3 separate regions of the Homo sapiens genome follow, and regions 2 and 3 are each linked to region 1. The links are contacts of gene promoters, found by promoter capture Hi-C in blood cells and fetal thymus (Javierre and others, 2016). All regions are on one chromosome and are shown on one strand. Each heading gives the region's core, a stretch centred on a gene start or on the middle of the fragment in contact. The rest is flanking DNA. Distances are from core to core; before and after follow the strand shown. Region 1 holds the start of SCAI (suppressor of cancer cell invasion). Region 2 overlaps NR6A1 (nuclear receptor subfamily 6 group A member 1). Region 3 overlaps ARPC5L (actin related protein 2/3 complex subunit 5 like).

Region 1 (2,597 bases), core at 37-2,536:
TTCAATTCCTACTACAATTTACCGTCAGTATTACTTCATAAATGGAAAGTCATTTTACCATTAAAGATGTAGGTAGGACCATCTCAGAAGAAAAGACAACTCTTTACACCAAATACATTTGGTTTTGTGAAAAACTAGTATCCTAATTTTTGCCGCTTATGGAGATCAATGAGAGATTTTCCCCACCCCAATGTTGACATGTACTACTCGACGCTGTCATATTATTGAGGCATAAAAGATGTTCTAATAAAATGGAAGTGACTTAAGAGAAAGTTTTATGCCTCCTCCCAACTCTGAACAGATGCTGAGAATATACCAAACAAGTTCACACAGGAGTAGAGATTTAGAGAGGCCTTCCCACCTTCAAGAATTTTATAATACGTTAATGAGCTGAGTCTTATTTTCAAGGATGGCTTTGTTAAAGCAGAAGAAGGGTAACTATGCTTATGAAAGGCAGTTTTGCATGCCTGTTTGTCAAAAAATACAGTACAATTTATTTTAAAATTGATTAATTGGTGTAGAACTTGCAATGGTCACACAATCAGGATGGTCAGCTTCCATTCAGGGATCAAATTTGTCCAGGCCTTTCAAAATGGAACACGTTGCTTTTAGTATGGCATTGGTTCTGTTTGTAGTGCTGATTTTTCTTTCATGGTAATTAAAAAAAAATCTTACTTTCTTAAAAGCCTGCACCCAAGCTAGTGAGCTTTTCTGCAGAGGATTGAGCATCCAAACCATGCTTTATTTTGGTGGATTCTTAGAGTTTTCTGGCTGGGTCCTTTTTGAGGGGTAGCTGTGAGCTGTGAGACAATTTCAGCAAGATGTAGGGACAAGGATCGCATTCGAGGTGGCTTAAAAGGAAACACGTTTGTGAGAGTTGCCTCACTGTCTCACCTGCTAGAAGAAATTGGGAGATTTCAGGGCTTGTTTTCGGTCCTGGCGTGGTGCAGAGGTGGAGGGGCGCCAGCAGGTGTGTGGTATGCAGGACGCAGAGCCAGGAGAACCTGGGGCAGGTGTCTGGAGCCGGGGGTGCAGTTCCTACTTTTAGACGCATGGTGGCGCTAGGGTCTCCTCCGGCCCTGCTAGCAATCTCTAAGGCACCTCCGCCGCCACCTGCAGTCTCAACCAAACCTCTGGGTGGGCAGCGCGGGATGTGACGGGCCGAGCGTCCAATCGACTGACAGATTTCCGTCCACACTACTGCTCTAGCCAATGGGAGCCGAGGAGAGGCGCGGAGGAGGCGGGCCCCGCGGCAAGCCTGGCAGAGGCGCGAGGCCCTCCTCCCGCCTCTCCGCCTACTCCAGCCTCCGCCGCCTCAGCTTCCCGAGCGAGCCCTGCGGCCGCCGGAGCAGCTCCCGCGGCGGAGCAGGAGCCGGATGGTCAGAGGAGCCCGGCAGCCCCAGCAGCCGCGGAGTCGCCTGGCCCCCAGGTGCGGGGGCTGGGTGGAGGCCGGGGTTGGGGATGGGGTGGGGGCCAGGGAGCGGGCCCAGGGGCAGCGGCTCGGGGCGGTGGAGCATTCGGGGCGCAGAGACCGGAGGGGCGGGGGGTGCAGGCTGGGGGGACCTTGGGGGCGCCTGCAGGCGGCGGCGCGGGCTGGGCGCGATCGCCTCCTCGAGGCCAGGTGAGAGGGGCGTGTGAGGGAAGGGGCGCCGAGGGGTGAGGCTGGCGGCGCGGGGCCGGGAGGGGCAAGGCGGGCGCGCCCCCGGAGGGGCCGTGGAATGCGGGGGTCGCCGGGCCCGGAGAGGCGGGGCGTGGAGGGGGCAGTGCACGGTCGGGAACGGGTGGGCACAGGAAAGGGGAGGCTAGGGGGGCTTGCGGGGGTGACGAGGCAGACAATGAGTAGGTGGAGGTGGGTGATTTTGGGGAGCTGGGCTGTGACGAGCAGGGGTCGAGGATGGGGTGAGGGACCAGGAAGGTTTGAGCTCAGGGGGAATTGGGGGAACGGTGAGTCCCAGGAATGCTAGGTCTTGGTAAATAGGGGAAACAGGGCATGAGGCGTTTGTAAGGTCAGATCTGGGCTTGGCGAGCCTGTGGTCCCAGAGGGTGGTCTATTTAGTTCTTGACTGGCACGGTAGCGCCGGGAGATGTTTTCTTGTATGTTACTTTTAGTTACCGTCTTATTTGTTTGGTCTGCAGACTGACTGGCACAGTGGAGAAACCGCCTCGAAAACGGAGAAGCAGGTAAGGCAGTGCCTTCCTATTTTGCTTCATGTTTTTCTTTTTGCTTGGCTGCACCTGTGCCGTACTGCATAATTGTATACTGTCAGTAGATGAAGTTTCTTATTTATCCCCCTTTTAAAAGAATATAACCACATGCATGATTTTTCTTTTGAGGACTTCAAATTACTACCTCTACAGTCGATTTTTTTTTTCTTGGTATCTAAGATAATGTGGGAAATCTTGAGAAATCCTACTTTTTTACTTTTTGATGTTGTGTAAGGATCTCAGCTATTTTTTTTTTTAACCTTAGCCATAATTTCATTTTCTCCAGCATCTCTGTTTAAAAAGCTCATCTTGGCTGGGGTGGCTCATGCCTTCAATCCCAGCTCTTTGGGAGGCTGAGGCAGGAGGATCATTTGAGCCTGGGAGTTCAAGAC
Region 2 (2,597 bases), core at 43-2,542, 380 kb after region 1:
TTGAGCTTTCAAGCAACAATTAGTTTTGGAAAACTTGTACTTGCCACTAAGAGCTTGACAGCTTCCCAATGATTAATGTCTTCTGATGAGATGGATGATGAAATAAATATGATTTTCGATGTTATGAAATGTGTCAACATTTTGAAAATCTGAATATCTCAGTAATTCAGTATTTTCCAAAAGATCTATGTGTGATATTACAGGATCCTACACAGCTAAGAGATCTGTTCAAAATGCCAGATTGATCAATGGATTTTAATGTAACGGATTACACATAGTTCATTGATATGGTTTTAAACTCACACTGAACTAACCTTTAAGAAAGTACCACTTAATTGAGTTTTGGTGTAGTATCAAAGAAGACTATCCACAATTACTTTAAAAAGCAAATACTTCTTCCTTTTCCGATTATAAATCTGTGGGGCCAGATTTTCTGCCTGTGCTTCAACAACAACAAAAAATCACAATATACTGAATGGGTAAACAGATAGGAGATCTAGCTGCTAGGATTAAGCCAGATATTAAGGAGATTAGCAAAATGTAAAACAATGCCACTCTTCTAATTTTTATGTTTTATTGGACAATTTTATTTTTCATAAAAATGTTATTTGTACTAACGTGAATTTATTAAATTTAAATGGATTATCAAATATTTTAAATTTTTCATAGGTTTATTTTCCAGTATGATAAATATCAATAGACAAAGCCACATAAATATCAACCCTTTAGGGTCCTTCATAATTTTTAAGAGTGTAAAAGGGATCCTGAAGAACACTCAGGCATAAATATATGAGAACTCCAGGTCTAAATGAACTAACGAAATGTGTAAAGAAGATGGTGACTTCACCAGATACCATTAGTAGTACTTTTTTTACTTTGGAGTTTTCTTACTTCCCTCGATAATTGAGCTACTTTTATTGAAAATGAGTTCATATCATTTTAAGTTTTCTTTGCTTGGGAATACATGAAATGTGTGGTAGTGCACTCTCACTGAGTTCTCTGATAAAGCTTTTGTTACCTGCTACATGAAACCTGTTGCTTAACTGATAATTGTCTTGTGGCAGCAGTTTTTCAAGAGAACCAGTTGCCTCACCAAGGGTAGACTTACATTTGTGGAAATAAATCTGACAACAGAATTTCTTAAGAGTCATTGCTATAGAATAATGAACAATTTATAAGAGATAAAGATCCTATCGTGCTTTTTAAAACTTCCATCAAGAATAGTTTGCTTATTTGCTTTCCTTAGACATGTTTGGCTTCACTGAGTCTTAGAGTTGTGATTTCGGTAATGCAGTTTTGTAAATTGGTTTGCTTTTAACCTGGTTTTCACTGAGATGGTAATAAAGTCTGTATAGGAGAGGCATCTCTTCCTCTGGTCGAAGAATATCCTTTCCTAGTGTGAGTAACATTTTAGTGTAAGTCAATTACTGTGTTGTTAAAGAGTTAGAAATTTACTCCTTAGGGTAGTTACTAGGTAGAACTCATCCTGTAGTGGGCTTGCTGGCTGAAGAAATGTCACATAACAATGTGAATAACAAATAAGGAGTTACCGCATCAGAACTCAAGGTGAAGCTTGGATAGGTGTTGAAAGATCAGTGAGATAATTATTTGGGCTTCCTTCCTAAGAGCTCTAATTATCTTGATATTCTTGGAGTTTCATGTAATGTACCTTTGAAAACATTTTTGTGTTTTGTGGGGATTGCAGCTTAGTTATAAGAAAATACAAGCCTTTCTTTTATTTCTTAATGTTTGGATTTGAAGATTCATGTGAAATCTTCAATTGCATTCTTCAGTTGAGTTAAATTGCTTTAATTACGAAACCTAATAACTGAGACAGATTTGGCTTTTTTCTTCCATATTCTTTCTGTACCCTTGAAGTCTAACCTGTCAGGAGACTTCCTCTCTCTATTCTTGGAATCCTTCCCCCAAGATGCCTTTTTAGCAGGATAATAAACCACCTGGGGGAAGCCCCCCATTGACATGCATTTAGAGGGCTTTGTTTTTTGGAAATGGCAATAGTAGTCCCATCCAGGGAGGAAGGATTTTGGTTAGATGGTGTGAGGCAAAGAGCAGGGACTCTGGAGTGTGGCCTAACAAAGATCACAGCTATGCGACTTTGTCACTTGACTTCTCTGAACTTTAGTGTTCTCATTTAACATTAATAGCTAACATTTACATAGTGTTTATAATCTAAACACCTTATGTATATTTATCGTCTTAACTCTGAGGTAGGTGTTCTGTTATCCCCATCTTACAGGAGAAAACTGAGACCCACAGAGTTTAAACCTCCAGATTTCGCAGCTAGTAACAGCATTAATAATTTGTTTCATAGATTTAACATCCCCTCTTCTCCAATATACTCTGACATTTCTGAAATTGACTGTAGGGTTATAAGGATTAGAGACAAGGTCTGTAAATTGCCAAGCATAGTATCTGCCTAAAAGCAAAAACCTGAGAATCTGGGGCATTTATCTATGTTGGAGAGGCCCAGAATTCAACTTTTATTGATTAGAGAGCCAAAAAGACCCACTCTTAGAATTGCAAGTGACTTTTTTCTTTTCTCTCATGCTGGCTTTTATTTTATTTTTATTTTTATT
Region 3 (2,597 bases), core at 26-2,525, 270 kb after region 1:
GAAAATTACAATCTGGGTTAGGTCCCCAAAGGTGACACCTATTTTAAACTGAATTACATCAGCCAACTTTCATTTCCTCGTATGAAACACTGGCTTCAGCCAAAAAGCTTCAAAAATAGAACAAGGAATGGCTTCTGCCCAATCGGGTCTCTACTCCTCTTCATGCAGTGATACCCACGTGCAGACAGGAAGGGCCTTCGGAGCAGAGCTGAATCTCCTGGCTTCCCCAGTATGAGATCCATCTTGAGTGAGCTGGGTCTGCGCCACCAGGCAAGCCACTCCCAGCGCTGGTTCCCCAGCTCCCTGCTTGGCTCTGATCCACCTTCCACACTCAAGAGGCAGTCCAGTCCCTCTGTCTTTCAGTTCTGGAGTTCCTTTTCCCCATCCAAACAAGGCCAGCCTGATATCAGCCACTGATAACCTCTACTTTGTAACTCCTTTTTTTTTTTGAGACGGAGTCTCGCTCTGTCGCCCAGGCTGGAGTGCAGTGGCGCAATATTGCCTCACTGCAAGCTCCGCCTCCCAGGTTCATGCCATTCTCCTGCCTCAGCCTCCTGAGTAGCTGGGACGACAGGCGCCCGCCAGCACGCCCAGCTAATTTTTTTTGTATTTTTAGTAGAGGCGGGGTTTCACTGTGTTAGCCAGGATGGTCTCGATCTCCTGACCTCGTGATCTGTCCGCCTCGGCCTCCCCAAAGTGCTGGGATTACAGGTGTGAGCCACCGCGCCCAGCCCTTGTAACTCTTTTCTAATGTGGTGTCCCCAAAGCAATAAGCAGGATCCCATAGGCTGAACAGAAAACATAGGCTCACTTGCTCTTCATGTAAACCTGGCACAACTAACAAATGACATCATTCAAATGATGGATGGGGAAGGGCAGGTATAAAACTAGTCCACGGGGGCAAAAAGCTACTGCTGTGGCGTTAACTCAGCACCACGCGTCCAGCAATCACTCGGCCCATTGATGGGTGAGGGCCTTCAGCAGTTGGGAGATGTGGGGCGCAGGGAGGACCTCCCTGAAGTCACCTATCATTTGTGAAGCCGGCTGTCATACTTGGCTGGCTTTAGGCCTTTTCAGAGAACAGGCTGTGGTGCTGAGGGAATCCTGCCCAGCCCTTGATCTCCTCTAGATCTTCCTCAATCACGGCACAACTGACACTGTGGACCCAGGATTCTCTGACGTGGGATCTTAGCTGTGTGTCATAGGCCTCTGCCCACTGGATTCCAGTGGCATCCCCAAGCTGTAACCATCAAAATGTCTCCAGTTTCCTGGGGGTGGAGGGGAAGGGTGCAAAATCGCTCACAACCACTGCTCTGGACAGAGCCCTGATCCAGAAGTATAGAAGCTGCTTCACTGAAGGGGAAAGGAACTCATACTTTTAAATCGCCACAAGGTCTCGGATCCTGTGCCAGGTGCTTTCACACGCCATCTCATTCCAAAAATCCTTGTGACAATAATCATTATCTCATTTTAAAGGCAATGGAATTGAGGCTCAGAGAACAGAAATTACCTGCGCAAGGTCACAAAACTAAGCTGTCTACACGGCCCTCACACCCAAGCTCCTCCCACAATCCCATGCTGCCGCTCTATCTGCAGACCCGAGCTGCATGTCCAGGACACTTGCTGTGTGCCCAGTGATGCTGATGTTAGCCCATGAGGCTCCCACGGAATCTAGGAAGCCAGCATGGCTGTCCGCCACGTAACAGAAGATGCTGAGTTGTGAAAGGGTATGCGACCTATCCGAGGTCACAGAGCCAGAGCATGGTAGTGCAGGGTGTGCGCAGATGCACAGCCGGGTTCCTTCTACTCCATCTGTGTCATCTCCTGCCACACACACTTCCCTATACAGCCCCAGGACAGGGCCCCTCTCTGCCCTCCCCAACCCCAATCCATCTATCCCTCTCCCTGCTCCCCTGTCCTCAATGGTCTAATATAAGTCCGATTCTTGGTACATGATAGAGACTCAATAAATATCAGTTCCATTCTCCTCCACCTGGGCCCCGTATTTGCCAGGGTTTCAGTTACCTTTATCCGTTAACCTCCCTTTCCCCAACCCCAAGTGGAGCACTCTCCATGGTAACAAGGTTTCTGACGCTTCTGACGCTGCCATGAATGGAGAAACGACCATCCCCTGGATGTGCTAAGCCCAGGCCTCTAAGCAGCCTCAAGGAACCTGTCACCAGGCAGGGGAGTCCCAAGACATGACCTTCAACAAGGTTCTGCACCCAGACCAAGGCAGCAGCTGACAGGCTTGATCTCATCTGTTCAATGAGAGTCCTGGGCCAAAGGCCTGACCCTGGAGCCCCTTTCAGCACTGACTGTCCATGAACTAGGCCCTACACCAGACTACAACCAACCTTCCCTCCTGGGGACCCTTCCCTTGACCCCATTTCATAAGGAGGGTGGATTGGGAGATCCTGATGGGGCAGGAATTACAAGCTTGAATCTCCACTTCGGAAAACACATTCCTGTTCAAATCAAGTCTGAAGGTTTTCGGTTTAAAGGCACACTCAGGAGCACTGCCGGGCTCCCCCTAAAGCAGCAGGCCCCACTTTCCAAGCTGAGTCAACTGGTTCAACACCGAGAACCTGATTTAT

What was found. The method cuts DNA at HindIII sites, captures the fragments that hold promoters and counts their contacts. A CHiCAGO score of 5 or more calls a contact.
Region 2: a fragment that was not itself captured here is called in contact with the fragment with the promoter of SCAI in region 1 in 2 of 17 cell types (naive CD8 T cells and total B cells); the score reaches 6.2 in naive CD8 T cells.
Region 3: a contact is called between a fragment that was not itself captured here and the fragment with the promoter of SCAI in region 1, in 4 of 17 cell types (naive CD4 T cells, total CD4 T cells, erythroblasts and 1 more). The highest score is 6.0, in naive CD4 T cells.

Annotation. Positions count from the first base shown.
Region 1 is chr9:125,142,217-125,144,813 of GRCh38, reverse strand. It overlaps SCAI (suppressor of cancer cell invasion), which reads left to right and starts at 1,286. Exons shown (of 18, transcript NM_001144877.3): 1 at 1,286-1,429; 2 at 2,137-2,181. The coding sequence starts at 1,377. RefSeq lists a silencer at 1,168-1,667. The HindIII fragment of the contact is 9,654 bases long and covers 1-2,597 here.
Region 2 is chr9:124,760,326-124,762,922 of GRCh38, reverse strand. The region is part of intron 1 of NR6A1 (nuclear receptor subfamily 6 group A member 1); the gene reads left to right. LOC124900274 (a long non-coding RNA gene) reads left to right here. Exons shown (of 2, transcript XR_007061773.1): 1 at 1-2,597. Among named protein-coding and RNA genes, the nearest start is that of NR6A1, 9.7 kb to the left of the region's middle. RefSeq lists enhancers at 1,287-1,841, 1,842-2,397. The HindIII fragment of the contact is 564 bases long and covers 1,011-1,574 here.
Region 3 is chr9:124,870,449-124,873,045 of GRCh38, reverse strand. All of the region lies in intron 3 of ARPC5L (actin related protein 2/3 complex subunit 5 like), which reads right to left. Among named protein-coding and RNA genes, the nearest start is that of ARPC5L, 9.6 kb to the right of the region's middle. RefSeq lists enhancers at 85-314, 12-512, 2,151-2,200. The HindIII fragment of the contact is 2,332 bases long and covers 110-2,441 here.